3 separate regions of the Homo sapiens genome follow, and regions 1 and 2 are each linked to region 3. The links are contacts of gene promoters, found by promoter capture Hi-C in blood cells and fetal thymus (Javierre and others, 2016). All regions are on one chromosome and are shown on one strand. The core of a region is centred on a gene start or on the middle of the fragment in contact, and the rest is flanking DNA. Distances in the headings are between cores, read along the strand shown. Region 1 overlaps LOC124903530 (a long non-coding RNA gene). Region 2 has its middle 11 kb from the start of C15orf39. Region 3 holds the start of SCAMP5 (secretory carrier membrane protein 5).

Region 1 (4,408 bases), core at 1,088-3,587, 140 kb after region 3:
ACAAGCAGCAGTTTCTCAAAGCAATGTAGAATCTGAAACCATAGCAATGACATATTCATACTGTTACATTAAAACTCATTGTTCCGGCTGGGCGCCGTGGCTCATGCCTGTAATCCCAGCACCTTGGGAGGCTGAGGCCAGACGTATTACATGAGGCCAGGAGTTTGAGACTAGACAGGCCAACATGACAAAACCCCGCCTCTACTAAAAATACAAAAATTAGCTGGGTTTGGTGATGCACATCTCTAATTCTAGCTACTTGGGAAGCTGAGGCACAAGAATTGCTTGAACCCGGGAGGCAGAGGTTGCAGTGAACCGAGATTTTGCCACTGAACGTCAGCCTGGGTGACAGAGCAAGACTCTGTCTCAAACAACAAAACAAAACAAAAGCCATTGCTCTCTCTTGTCCCCCCACTTTTTTTTTTAAGACAGGGTTTCACTCTGTCACCCAGGCTAGGGTACAGTGGCTTGATCATAGCTCATTGCAACCTCAGACTCCTGAGCTCAAGCAATCCTCCTGTCTCAGCCTCCTTAGTAGCTGGAACTATAGGTGTGTGCCACCACACCTGGCTAATTTTTTATTTTTTAAAATAAAGATGGGGTCTTGCTATGTTGCCCAGGCCGGTCTCCAGCTCTTCGCCTCTAGTGATCCTCCCACCTCTACCTGCCAAAGTGTTGGGATTACAGGCATGAGCCACTATACTCAGCCCTGTCTTGTACCTTAAGTGAATCTTTTATGTGAGTGTAGTTCTGTAACATTATGCATTTGTCATTTGGAAAGTACTGATAGAGTTATGCAGATCATCCAATTTTTGACACATTTTGTTAGACAATATTGAAAAATCATGTGTGTTAATATCACTACTAATCTCATAAGAAAATTGTTTAAGTAAGGCTGGGCACGGTGACTCATGCCTGTAATCCCAGCACTTTGGGAGGCCGAGGTGGGTACATCACCTGAGGTCAGGAGTTCAAGACCAGCCTGGCCAACATGGTGAAACCCCATCTTTACTAAAAATACAAAAATTAGCCAGGTGTGGTGGCGTGTGCCTGTAATTCCAGTTACTCAGGAGGCTGAGGCAGGAGAATTGCTTGAACCCAGGAGGCAGAGGTTACAGTGAGCTGAGATTATGTCATTGCACTCCAGCCTGGGTGACAGAGCAAGACTCCATCTCACACAAAAAAAAAAAAAAGAAAAGAAAGGAAAAAAAAAGTGTTTAAGTACTTAGAAGCTTGTTAAGCTCACAATGGTGGATACACATTTTCCAAAATTCTAACTTTTGCTTGAAAGCTCAAATTTTATCATTGGCAACAAATGCTGTCAGTTGCTTTTATGGAGTGACAGTTTCACTTTATTTATTGTTAAGAAATGTCTGCTAAATACCAGTCGGAATAACCATAGTTTGTCAGTCTTTCAAGTAAAAATGGTGTTCTATGAAAAAAGCAGCTAGTTTGGCTGACAACTCAGACAATCACACAAGCGCTTTTCCTTAGAGAAGCCCATCATCCTTTGGTAAGCAGCAGAAGTGCTTTCTACATACTCCTCCTTTCATCACACAAAATATCAAGCATAGAAAGATATATACTGCTCACAGATTGAGAGTTAATAAAAGTATTTTTTACTGTTCCATCAAGGTCATTCATAAATGAAATGTTTTTAAATTGCAAATACATGGCAATGAAGAATACAATGCTAGCCTGGGCAACATACTGAGACACCGTCTCTACAAAAAATAAAAAAATAGCCGATGTGGTGGTACGTGCCTGTAGTTCCAGCTAATTGGAGGCTGAAGTGGGAGGATCGCTTGAGCCCAGGATGTCAAGGCTGCAGTGTCAGGGAGGAAAAACGTTTTGTCTGCACTCAGGTTCATTGATTAGAGGTCTGTGAATTAAACTGACAAAGGACAGAATAACAGGAGAAAAGGCACACAACTTTTATGAATATTTACCTGCATGAGAGTTCACAGAAAAGAACTGAAACTCAAAGAAGTCATTAGACATGGGGACTTACACAACATTTTAACAAAGGAAAGAGGGTTTGGGCATCAAGGGTGACAAATTGTGGGGAAGTGGCTAGGAAATATATGGGGGAACGAATGGACGATAGAGGTTATTTTAGTAAGGTCTGTTTATGCAAAATCATCTTGGTATTCACAAAGGGAAATTTATGCCCTGTTTTTTGCAGCTAAGAGGAAAGCAGAGAACTCATCCTGCAACTGTTGATTCCCAGTTGCATTCCACTCAAAATAGTTCTTCTGCCAAAGTGGCTTATTTTGGAGTGGCATATTTTGATCCTCTCAGGCACTACTGCCTTAACTTGTGTTGAAGCAATGACACGTTCACTCGCCATTGCTCTCAAGCAGTCAGTCAAATGATAACACATCATTTGAATGAAAAGGGCATAGAATGTCTGAGTATTACTATAAACATAGTTTTGACCTTGCAGATCTCTAAGTATCTTGGGGACCTCCAGGGTCCATAGGCCATACTTTGACAACACTGCTGTTCCGTATTGTATTACTTGTTTACTTACTTTAACCAACAAATAAATAATTTTTTCAGACAGGATCTTGCTCTGTTACCCAGACTGGTGTGCACTGGCATAATCATAACTCACTGCAGCCTTGACCTCCCGGGCTCCATTGATCCTCCTGCCTCAGCCTCCTGAGTAGCTGGGGCTACTGGTGCATGCCACCATGCCCAGCTAATTTTTGTATTTTTTGTAGAGTTGGGGTTTCACCATGTTGCCCAGGCTGATCAGAAATTCCTGGGCTCAAGTAATCCTCCCACCTGGCCTCCCAAAGTGTTCAGATTACAGGTGTGAGCCACCACACCCAAATAAACAATTTTAAAGCACCTCTTCCATGGCTCTCTACTGCTGAGTGTAAAGTACAGATGCCTTGGCCTAAGATCCAAAGCCTTAAGTGACTGGCCTTTGCCTCTTTGCCACTGGCATGTCCTCGCTCTTTATCCAAACACAGGTCAAGCCACAGAAGTTACTGGGATTCCCAGAACGTATTTGCATGCGTTTCTGTCCCTGCGTCCATCTCCATTTTCTCCCAAGCATTCTTTAAGCCCAAGTACCACAGTCAATCTCTCTGACTCCTCCAAGAAAAGGCCATTGCAGCCATGATTAGTGAAGGGCTGCAGATACACAAGTAAGGTGGGATGCACTGCAACTCACCTAGCATCCTCCCAGGGCTTACTCTGCCATAGGATCTCTGGTGCCAGACCTAAAAATGTGTGCGGAAGGAATGGAGGCAGGTGCTGGGGAGAGGGGAGGCCTGCCAGGAATTCTAGAATGCACCAAAAAAGGCCACTTCCTTCTGTTGCCAAGGTCCTGGGTCTCTATGCTTTAGGGCAAGGGTGTCTGGGGATGGTCCTTGTGAGGGGCAACTGGGGACCCTAGTGGGGCAGGCCTAGGGCTGCCAGATAAAATATAGAAAGCTTAGTTAAAATTAGATTTAAGATAACAAATACTCTTTTAGTATAAGTATATCCCAAATACTGCATAGAACCTCCTCATCCTAAAAAAAAATTCAATGTTTATCTGAAATTCAAATGTAATGGAGTCCTGTATTGTTGTTTGGTAAATCTGGCAATCCCGTGTAGGCCTTTGCTATTCAGCTCGCTGAGCAAAGTGGCCCCTCTTCACTTACCTTGCCACCTACCAGACCTGCCCAGACCTGGTCCTGGCTGCCTCCAGGCAGCACAGCCCACTGAAAGGAACCCTTTCCGTCCCAAAGCTGCCCAGAGCCTGAGAACAGAAGCAAACTGCGCGCTTGGATGGATATGGCGGATTAGGCTATGCCTTTGGAGAACTAACTCCTCTCGGAGAAGGGGGCTCTCTCTCACAGCCAGGACCTTCTGGGGTGCCTATGCGGAGACGCCCTCCTTCCTTGACCCACTTCTTCTCCCCACTCCCCGCTGATGCCCAGCCCTCTCTCTAACCTTCCTGAGTTGCTGTCTCTGCAACTCCCCCTGCCAGGACTGGCTATCAATCCCTTCAGAAACTAAAGCCCAGTCCAGCCCCTGGGAGGCCTCCTGGGTGTCTGGGATTCCCCTGGTGGGATGCGTCTGGCCTGAGGTTGGAGACAATGATGCGTTCTTCCTCCCAGCCAGTGGCTTCTCTACCAGCCAGACTGCTTTGCCTTTTCTCCTTTTAAGGACCTGAGGGCAAACTCTCCTTCCCTCTGGGAGGACTTCTTTCTTCCAAAGGTCCCAGAGGGGGGTGTGTCCTTTAGCTTGAGGCCCTCGCTTTCCTCCATTCTCATGACCTTGCCCCCTTCCCTGTGGAGGGTCTTGTTATGCTGAAGGCACCTTTCCCTCCTTCCGGACTGGCGTTCCTAGCATCCCCACGGAAACCGAAAATGCCTCCTGCAGAACCATCTGGCCACATGGCTCCAAT
Region 2 (4,400 bases), core at 1,733-4,232, 200 kb after region 3:
CTCAACTTGCCCTGAATGCCTTCGCAGGCCTCTTGCCTTCAGGAGTTGCATGCTGCACCTTCTGGAAACAAACAGGGACCATGATACCAGGCGGGGCTAGGCTGCCACTCCTGCCCTCCCACTGGCTGCAGTCAGATGTCAGCACATGGCACTGGGGGTGTGGGTCACAGGAAGGCCCTGTGGGCCTCTGGAAGGTTCTGCTCAGAAGAAACATCATGGGCAAGGAGGTCTGTGCAGGGGCTGCAGGGGCTGCAGTCACCCCTCCGATTGCCTGTTACAGATGGGGAGCTGTGGAGGTTTCTGTGTCCCTTCCTTTTAACTAAACAACCCCAGCTGGACACGGTGGTTCACACCTGTAATCCCAGTACTTTGGGAGGCCGAGGCAGGTGGATCACCTGAGATCAGGAGTTCGAGGCAAGCCTGACCAATATGGTGAAACCCTGTCTCTACTAAAAATACAAAAAAATTAGCCGGGCAGCTACTTGGGAGGCTGAGACAGGAGAATTGCTTGAACCTGGGAGACAGAGGTTGCAGTGAGCCGAGATCTCACCGCTGCACTCCAAGCTGGGAGACAGAGTGAGACTTTCTCTCAAAAAAAAAAAAAAAAATTGAACAACCCCTTTCCAGGCCTTTTGTCCCCATTAGGAGTGTCCTGTTGTGGTCCCTGGCTACTGCCCCAGACTTAGGTTAGGAATGGGGACAGAACTGGGCCTGGGAGCTGGGATTAGAATGGGCTGGGATTGGGATGAAGATGGTCTAGTCTGGGCTGGGCAGAGCTTGGGATGGGGGTGGGAGGCCTGAAAGCAGAGGGCTTTACTGGAATGACTGTTTATCCCCTGCCCACTCTGCATTGAGCCTGTCAACCTGAATGATGAGATTCAGGCAATATGATTAAATACTGAGTTTATTGGAGTGCAAAGTTTGAGGAAGGCACAGTCTCCAAAAAAATGGGGTCCAAGGTGCTCTGAAGTGGAGAGATTTGAGGATCATTTATATAGGCAAGGATGTAAACAGGATTACATCATTTTTCATACATAGTTACAGCAATTGATTGGTTAAAGGCAGTGTTTCTTTTTCGGGAAAAGTATATTTGACATTCCACATAAGGATGTAATAGTTAAGGGGTCTTTCATCTCAGTCAAGGGGTCTTCTATCTTAGGGCCATCTGGTCTAAGCCAGGAACAAGGAAGGAAATTAATTTATAACAAAAGTTCAGTAATTAAGAGGTCAAGTTCTGTGACTCAGTCTCCAAAGGCAACCTTCCTCAGAGCCTAGTAACTGTTATTTTTGTTCTTGTTGTTTTGTTTTTGTTTTTGAGACAGGGTCTTGCTCTGTCTCCCAGGCTGGGGTGCAGTGGCGCAATCACGGCTCACTGAAACCCCGACCTCCTGGGCTGGGCTTAAGCAATCCTCCCACCTCAGCCTCCTGAGTAGCTGGAACTACAGGTGTGCATCATCACGCCTGGCTTTTTTTTCTTTCTTTCTTTTTTTGGTATAGAGAAGGTCTCATTATGTTACCCAGGCTGGTCTCAAACTCCTGGGCCTGAGCAATCCTCTAGGTTTGGTCTCCCAAAGTGCTAGGATTACAGGTGTGAGCCACTGCACCTGGCCCCTAATAACTTTTAGAAGCCCTAAACAGATGATCCAGTTCCTTTCACAAGCCTGTGGAAAAATGGCAGACTGAGGAGGTGGTTTTGGCTCTCTGGCCTTCACAGAACTTCTTCCTAGAGAAGGGAAAGCAGACTTCAGCCCCACGTTGTTGGGAACAGGCCCCCAAATCTGGCCATAAACAGGCCCCAAAACTGGCCATAAACAAAATATCTGCAGCACTGTGACATGCTCGTGACGGCCACGATGCCCATGTTGAAGGTTATTGTTTTACCGGAATGAGGGCAAGGAATACCTGGCCCACCCAGAGCGGAAAACCGCTTAAGGCATTACTGAACCACAAACAATAGCATGAGCGATCTGTGCCTTAAGGACATGCTCCTGCTGCAGATAACTAGCTAGACCCATCCCTTTATTACGGCCCATCCCTTTGTTTCCCATATAGGATACTTTTAGTTAATCTATAATCTATAGAAACAATGCTTATCACTCGCTTGCTGTCAATAAATATGTGGGTAAATCTCTGTTCATGGCTCTCAGCTCTGAAGGCTGTGAGTCCCCTGATTTCCCACTCTGCACTCTATATTTTTGTGTGTGAGTCTTTAATTCCTCTAGCGCTGCTGGGTTAGGGTCTCCACGACCAAGCTGGTCTCAGCACCACATCTTCTCAGAGTCCTGCCTGCTTCCTAGGAATTGGCCTGAGGAAGGAGGAACACGGGTTCACTGAGGCTCACTGCCTGCCGGGACTGATCCAGTGGCATTAGAACACTGGGCACCTGACCCTACCACAAACCTGGGGGCACAATTCATCATCCCACAGTCAAAGACCCTGGAGCTCAGAGAGGTTAAGAAGCTTGCTTCAAGTCCCACAGCCAAGAGTGCAAGTTGGGATCTGGGCCTGGATAAGGTGGCTGGTGCTGGTTTTGTCACCAGAGTATCCCTAAGAAGGCAATACTAATCCAAGCAAGGAGACACTAACAGGGGGTGTCAGCACCAGGAGAGTGATGCAGCAGTTTCCCAGCAGTGGGACTTTTCTGGAAGGAGCTGGAGGCCCATTCTGGGGTCAAATGCTGCTGCAGCCAAGCCTCCTCCACAGCTGCAGGGCATTTGCCTGGCTCCTGCTGCTGGGGTTCTAATCTCATGACTGGCCTCGGCTCAGGGTCAGCCCAAGGACACCTCTCAGTCTGGGGGCTGAGGTCAAGGCTGACTTCTGGCCTGTCTGGGTAACCTGCACCTCTCACCTGCACTGTTCACACTGGTTCCCTGGGCCTGACCTGTGTTCCCTTCACCAAGCCCGAGTTATACAGTGTGGACTCCCACCCCCCATCAAGACCCCTCTCCCTGGCCAGTGCTGCTCTATGTCAGGGAGGGAGACAACAGGGGGCTTCCCTGGAATGCTCACCTTCTGCCCTGTGCCACTGCTGCTGGCTTCCCACCACGTTGCTCCGTTGCTCACCACACTACCCACCTCTTGCCATCATCTCCGGAAGCTGGGGGCTATGACCATTCTTGTTCCAATGTTAAAGATGGGGAATCTGAGCTCAGCAAGAGGAAGCCTTGACCTCCCCTTACTCCTGAGCCACTCCACTGTGACACGGTGCCCACACGTCCACTGGCAGCACCTCACCTCTCCTTTCCTTTCTTGGCTGGAGGCTCGCTCTGACCCCACCACACAGGCTGTCCCCTACTCCCCGCTCTCAGCTCTGGCAGCCTTTCTAGCCAGAGCCCATAGTTCGGCCACTTGCAGCCTGACCATGGGCTGGGCTGGGGGGCATTCTACTCTCTTCAAGAGCTGAGGGACTGTCAGGTGAAAGATGGATGCCAGGGACTGAGGGGTCATCAGGGGGTGACGCCCGAGAGAGCCAGGAGGCCCCGGATGGAGGCCTGAAGGGATAAGCCAAGCTTCTTTCTAAATCCCTGGCTGTGCCAAAGCCACCCATGGAGACTTTCCCTTACTGACCTGACCTCAGCTGGATTTGGCATCCTCCTGGCTTCCCCAGCCAGCCAGGGCACACTGACTAGACAGAGATGGCTGAGGAAGGTGTGTGTGGAGCTGACACACGGGCCCCGGAAGTGCTGGAGAAGGCTCGTTCTGGGTGTGGACCCTCTTCTCCCTGCCCCTTACCCAATTCCCTGGGGGATTCTTTTGTTCCCCTGCCCTATGCTGGGGTGCAGGGAGGCCACCTGGGGCCTTGCCAGCCTGGACTTGCCTGAGCTCTGGGCCCTGAGGTCATGGAGACCTCCTGAAACCCTCCCCAGGGGAGCTGTTCGCAGGCAGACAGGCCCAATGAGGTGCTAATTACTGAACTAATTGGAACCTGAGCCATAGATGACCTGGTTGACAGGAGGTGGGGACTGCTGGAGCAGAGGGGGCTGTGGAATAGGGTCTGGAGGGAGGTTGAGGGAGCCCAGAGCTGGTGCAGGGTGGGCTGTGTTTGTTCAGGAATTGTTGATTTATTAGCAAGATCAGCTCTTTGAAATGCGTTCTGGTCTCCTCCATATCTCTCCTGGTCCTGGGTTTCTCTCTGGGAAAAGATTGGTGTTCTGAAGCCACTGCTTGTTGGGAGGGGTTCATCAAGAATTTGGGGGCAGAATGTTCTGCTCTGGGGAGTGACTCGAGCCGGAGGGAGGCCCACGGCCTGTCCTGAGGATTCCAGGCCTGCTGCAGCCAGCAGACGTGGCACTGGGTGGTCTTGGAGATGGGCTGTGAGAACAGAGTGACACCACTGAGCCGGGTCACCTTGGAGGGTTCTGGGACTCACCCCACACCTGGCTCTTTTGGACCTTGGCCTG
Region 3 (4,779 bases), core at 83-2,582:
CATGTGGGTCAACCAGGGACAGGACTGACACAGAACCCAGTTGTCCTGCCCCGAAGCCCAGGACCCTTCCTTCCTGGTTGGCCTGGTGGCAGGATGATGCTTCCTGCTCAGCCCTTCCCAGGCACCGAGGCTCTCTCCCTCCTTTTCCCCTCTGCCACACTAGTTCTTGTCTGCCTTTTTTCACTGCCACCCCCTTTTCATGCCAGCTGTGGGAGTGAGGCCCCACTCCTGGCAGGATGGAGCCAGACAATGGGCCCTTATTCTAGGCAAAGAATCCCTGCAGTGTCTCCCACCCACTGAGGCCCCCTTCCAGGCCTAGGATGGTGTGGGTGGGGGGTGGAGGGTGGGTGTATGGTGTAGGGGAAGGAGCAATTGGCTGGCAGGACAGACAGTGGCCCTGGCCCTGCCTGTAGAGATCCCACGGAGGTTTACTATGTAAACACCAATCACAATAAAATCCTGTCTTCACTCCCAGCCCATCTCTCCAAGTGGGTCTCTCTCAACCCTCCAAAGCTCTGGGTTTTTAAACATTTACCCTTGCCTCTACTCTCTCTTGGTATTCATCTCTGCATATCACTGTCTCTTTCATTCCTTTTTCTGAGTCTCTTTCTTTTTCTAAGCCTCTCCTCTCTCTCTCTCTCTCTCTCTGCTCCTTTGCGTAATTTGTCTCTATTTCTTGCCTCTTTCTTGCTTCATTATGCTCCCTTACCTATCTTATCTTTCCATGTCTTTTTTCTCTCCAGGCCTTGAGCTCTCATCTCAGTCTCTCTCTCCGTGTGTCTCTGTCTCTGTTTGCAGCTCTTCTTTCTCGTCCTCCTATGTCGTCTTTCCGTGGATCTGTGTCCTTGCCTCTCTGAATATCATCTCCGATCTTCCGTCCTCTGTTCTCTCTTTCCCCCTGCGCCTGCAGATCTGAAGGACCTTCCGCAGTCACCACACTCTCCTGCTTTCAGCTCTTTCTCACTCCTTTCTGGCACGTCCCAGAGGCTCCTGGCATAGGTATAGGAGGTTATTCTCCCCAGTTTACAGATATGGAAGCTGAGGCTCTGGCTGCTGGTGCCAGGCTCCCATCTCTGGGTCTCTTCCTTCCACCTACACGCCAGGCTCTTGTCCCTGAGGTGCCCGTCAACCACCTGATCCGGCCGGGGCCCGGGAACTAGCACCTCGGACAGCTCCTGGAAGATGCCGGGGCGGCCGGGTCGTCCTTCTCGCGAGCTCAGGAGGAGCAGCCTTAGGAGCAGAGCGGAAGTCTCGCGAGAGTGACTGCTGCAGGCAGTGGCGGCGCGGGCGCGCGCAGAGACGGCCTCGGGCGCGCGCGCGCGCGCGCGCGCTCCCCGCCCCCAGCCCCGGAGCGGCTCGCGGCCGGCTCCGCGCCGCATCGCTCGGGTGCAGCGCAGCTCAGCGCAGCGCTGCGGCCTTTCGGCAGCCGAACGGCCGCGGCAGGTGAGTCTGGGCATGAAGGCTGGGAGGAGAGCTTTGAAGGGAAGCTGGGCGCGGGGCGAGAGGTGTGGGGGTCGCTGGCTGCAGCTTTGTTCCTCCTACACTTCACCTTTGGATGCAGGAAGAAGGCCGAACTGCTGGAGAGGTGGGAGTGGAGGTGACCTTTACTGTTTGGGGCTGGGGGAGAGCGCTCAGGGCGCACCCAGGCCCCCCGAGCCCCCCAAGCCCCCCCATTCCCATCTGTGGCTCCCGCAGAGGGAACTGGGCCTTTGGGTGACGTCAGACCCTGGATCTGGAGCCTGAGCTTTGGGCCCTCCATCCCCCCCGCCAGCCCCACCTGGCGTTCCCTGGAAACCGGCCTTCTGGAGATGGCGTGCGCAGCCGGGGATGGGGGCGACTGGAAGGGGGTGCCCGTGGCTTCCTTTGGGCCTTTCCTTCCAACTAGCGCCTGCAGGTGGACCCGGGTTGACTTCCCTCACCTCCCTCGGGCGGCCGACCTTTGGATGGCGGACCTCAGCCGCCCCAGGGTTGCGAGGCGACGGGCGCGCTGGCCCAGGCCACCAGGCGGGCTCCATCAGGGCTTTGGGTGGTGAGTTGGGGGCGCCGGATTTGGCTCATTTCAACGCTGGCCGGAGGTCACGAGGATGGAGGTGAGGTGTTTGTGAACCGATCCTTGTCCTCCGCCTCGGGGAGCTCCTGGTCTGTGGGTTGGGGGAACCAAGTAGAGACTCGGACTGAGCATTCACTGTCACAGGCGGCTTAAACAAGTAATGTCCCAGCTTCCCGATGGGGAGATCAGTGAGGGCCTGGCAGACTTTCCCAGGGACACAGAGAGAAAGGGAGGCGACAGCTAGCGAATAGGAGACTTCCAGAGGTGATGGGATTTGGGTGGGAGGAGAGGCAAGAGAGGGCATTCCAGGAGAATGTATGGGCAAAGGCACAGGGATGAAAACGAGCACAGCTGTTGGGGGCTGAGCCTGGGAGCTCAGCCATGTGACTGCCCATGGGGTGGTGGAGTCTGGAGAAATTTGCAACCTGTCCCCTACATGTTCTGCCTCACGGAGCAGGGCTCTGAAAGAGGGAGATGGTTCTTGCAGGGGCATGATTGGCAGAGAGATTTTGTTTGGGGCTACACAGGTCTTGCTAACTTAGGTTTGTTCTGGGCTTGGTGAGCCTTAGGGCAAAGTCTCTAGAGCTGAGAGGGGGCTGTCTCTGGTGAATGGGCCCCTGAAAGAGGGTCTTAGGTTTAGCAAACCCCTTGGAGAGTTAGTGGGGTCCCAGGAGGGGAGTTCTAGAGAGAGACCTTGGGCTCTGTGGCTGTTTCTTTAACCGTTTCCTGAGTGGCCACCTCCAAGCAAGTTCCCCAAGTCACCTCCCCTCTCTGGGCATCTCTTTCTAGCACCTTTCTCTAGAGATGAAATAATAGGACTAAGTAGTGACCTCCCTTGAGGATGCTCCTTGTTCTAGTTTAGAGCATCCCCCCTTTCTTCTCCCTCTTCCTTTTCCTTTCCTCCCCTATCCCTCTGCCTCCCTGTCCCTATCCCCACCCCTTGCCCCCCACAGCATTTCCTTTACAGGCTGCACTTCCTTCCCTGCTGCCAGCCAGGAGTTTCGGAAGGTTTCCTGGAGGAAGTGTGATACAGCAGGTTTGACAGCAGCTTTGGGCTTAATCTGATTGGGGGAGGGCGTTAATTGCCTCCCTCCCACCCATTGGGAAAGTGTCCAAGTCTTAAGCAAGTATATGGATTGACTGTGCTCTGTGCTGGGTCCCTCCTGGAAACTCCATCCAGGAGGGAGTGAGGAGATTATGGGAGAAGACGTGAACACTTAGTGCCCAATGACTGACTCAAAATGTATGCAGCGGGATGCAGAGCAGCGATTTTTGGAAAGGCTTCCCAGAAGGGGTGGGATGTGAGAAGGTAGCAGGACTTAGAGGAGCTGATAGTGCTGCCAATTTAGGGGCACTGGAAGCAGAGGGGGCGGCTAGAGATGATCTCCTGCATGAGGCTGGGAGTGTAGGAGGCAGGTCAACCTGTGAGCAGCCAAAGGTGGTGGGAGGGAGGTTTGTAGCTGACTGGCACAAAGCCTTGAATGCCAGGCAAAGATCTGTAGGAGGCTACTGAATAGTCATCAGTAGGACAGGGACAGCATGGCCAGGAGACTGCTGTTTTCTGAGGATTATTCATAGTTCTGGGATTTCAGGGCAGAAGATGGGGCTAGGAGTGGGATGAGGGGATTGGAGGTAGAGCAGGAGGGGGAAACTTCCATCTTAGCAGGTTGGCTCTGGGCAGCAAAAAGGAATCACCATTTCTGTGCCAGGGATGAGGGGCCCATACTGGTGAGCAGGGAGCCCTGGAGTTAGCCCCAGGACTCTGGCCTGATCTGAAGCCAGGCTTGACCCTCGTCTGCTGCCAGAGGCCTCAGTCTCCCCACTGTGGGGGCTTCTGTCCTAGCTTCACAATAAGGAATGGAATACATTATAGTTAGGGTTTCATGAACAAAATTCAGGTAGTAACTGCTATCTTATTGATAATTAAGGTGTTTCCCTAGGCCTACATCTTTGGAGGGATATGTAGCCCTTATCCCCATTATAAAAGATTATCAGTTGAGCAGATTGCTAATTCTTCTGTTTTGTAGTCTAAGAACTTTGGTTTGGCCGGCGCGGTGGCTCATGCCTGTAATCCCAGCACTTGGGGAGGCCGAGGCGGGTGGATCACCTGAGGTCAGGAGTTCGAGACCAGCCTGGCCAACATGGTGAAACCGTGTCTCTAGTAAAAATACAAAAATTAGCCAGGCATGGTGGTGCACGCCTGTAATCCCAGTTACTAGGGAAGCTGAGGCAGGAGAATAGTTCGAACTTGGGTGGAGGAGGTTGTAGTTAGCTGAGATCGTGCCACTGCACTCCAGCCTGGGCAACAGAGTGAAACTCCATCTCAAAAAAAAAAAAAAAAAGAACTTTGGTTTGCAGAGGCCAGTGATTGCTGTCTTCCCCTCCAACCCCCCACCCCCCATTTCAAAGGCTTCCCAGAAACAAGGGCAGAGAAGCCTGGAGCCTTCCATTTCTGTGACCCTAGTCTTTTACCACCCTCTCAAGCCCCAGATTCTCTCTGCCCTAACCTTTATATACAAACAAGGCAGCTTTGCCCTCTGCTCTGGTTTCTGCTCTGAATTATTCATACTTTGCTGCACTGACTTCTCTGGAACTGTAAGCAGACTTTTGGGAGATTGTCTGGGACCAGGGACAGGGGTTAGGCTGGAGCCCGGTTAGGGAGAAGACTCCTCCTTTGAGGCCCCTATGTTCTAGTTGTTTTCTCCTCTCCCTCTGCTTCCTTGTTTTCC

What was found. The method cuts DNA at HindIII sites, captures the fragments that hold promoters and counts their contacts. A CHiCAGO score of 5 or more calls a contact.
Region 1: a contact is called between a fragment that was not itself captured here and the fragment with the promoter of SCAMP5 in region 3, in 1 of 17 cell types (monocytes). The highest score is 5.7, in monocytes.
Region 2: a fragment that was not itself captured here is called in contact with the fragment with the promoter of SCAMP5 in region 3 in 3 of 17 cell types (monocytes, M1 macrophages and fetal thymus); the score reaches 10.1 in monocytes.

The regions. Positions count from the first base shown.
Region 1 is chr15:75,134,298-75,138,705 of GRCh38, forward strand. The region is part of intron 1 of LOC124903530 (a long non-coding RNA gene); the gene reads left to right. Among named protein-coding and RNA genes, the nearest start is that of C15orf39, 65 kb to the right of the region's middle. The HindIII fragment of the contact is 2,215 bases long and covers 1,231-3,445 here.
Region 2 is chr15:75,188,664-75,193,063 of GRCh38, forward strand. No RefSeq gene overlaps it. Among named protein-coding and RNA genes, the nearest start is that of C15orf39, 11 kb to the right of the region's middle. RefSeq lists enhancers at 1-452, 3,208-3,910. The HindIII fragment of the contact is 1,049 bases long and covers 2,459-3,507 here.
Region 3 is chr15:74,994,231-74,999,009 of GRCh38, forward strand. It overlaps SCAMP5 (secretory carrier membrane protein 5), which reads left to right and starts at 1,333. Exons shown (of 7, transcript NM_138967.4): 1 at 1,333-1,443. The HindIII fragment of the contact is 14,301 bases long and covers 1-4,779 here.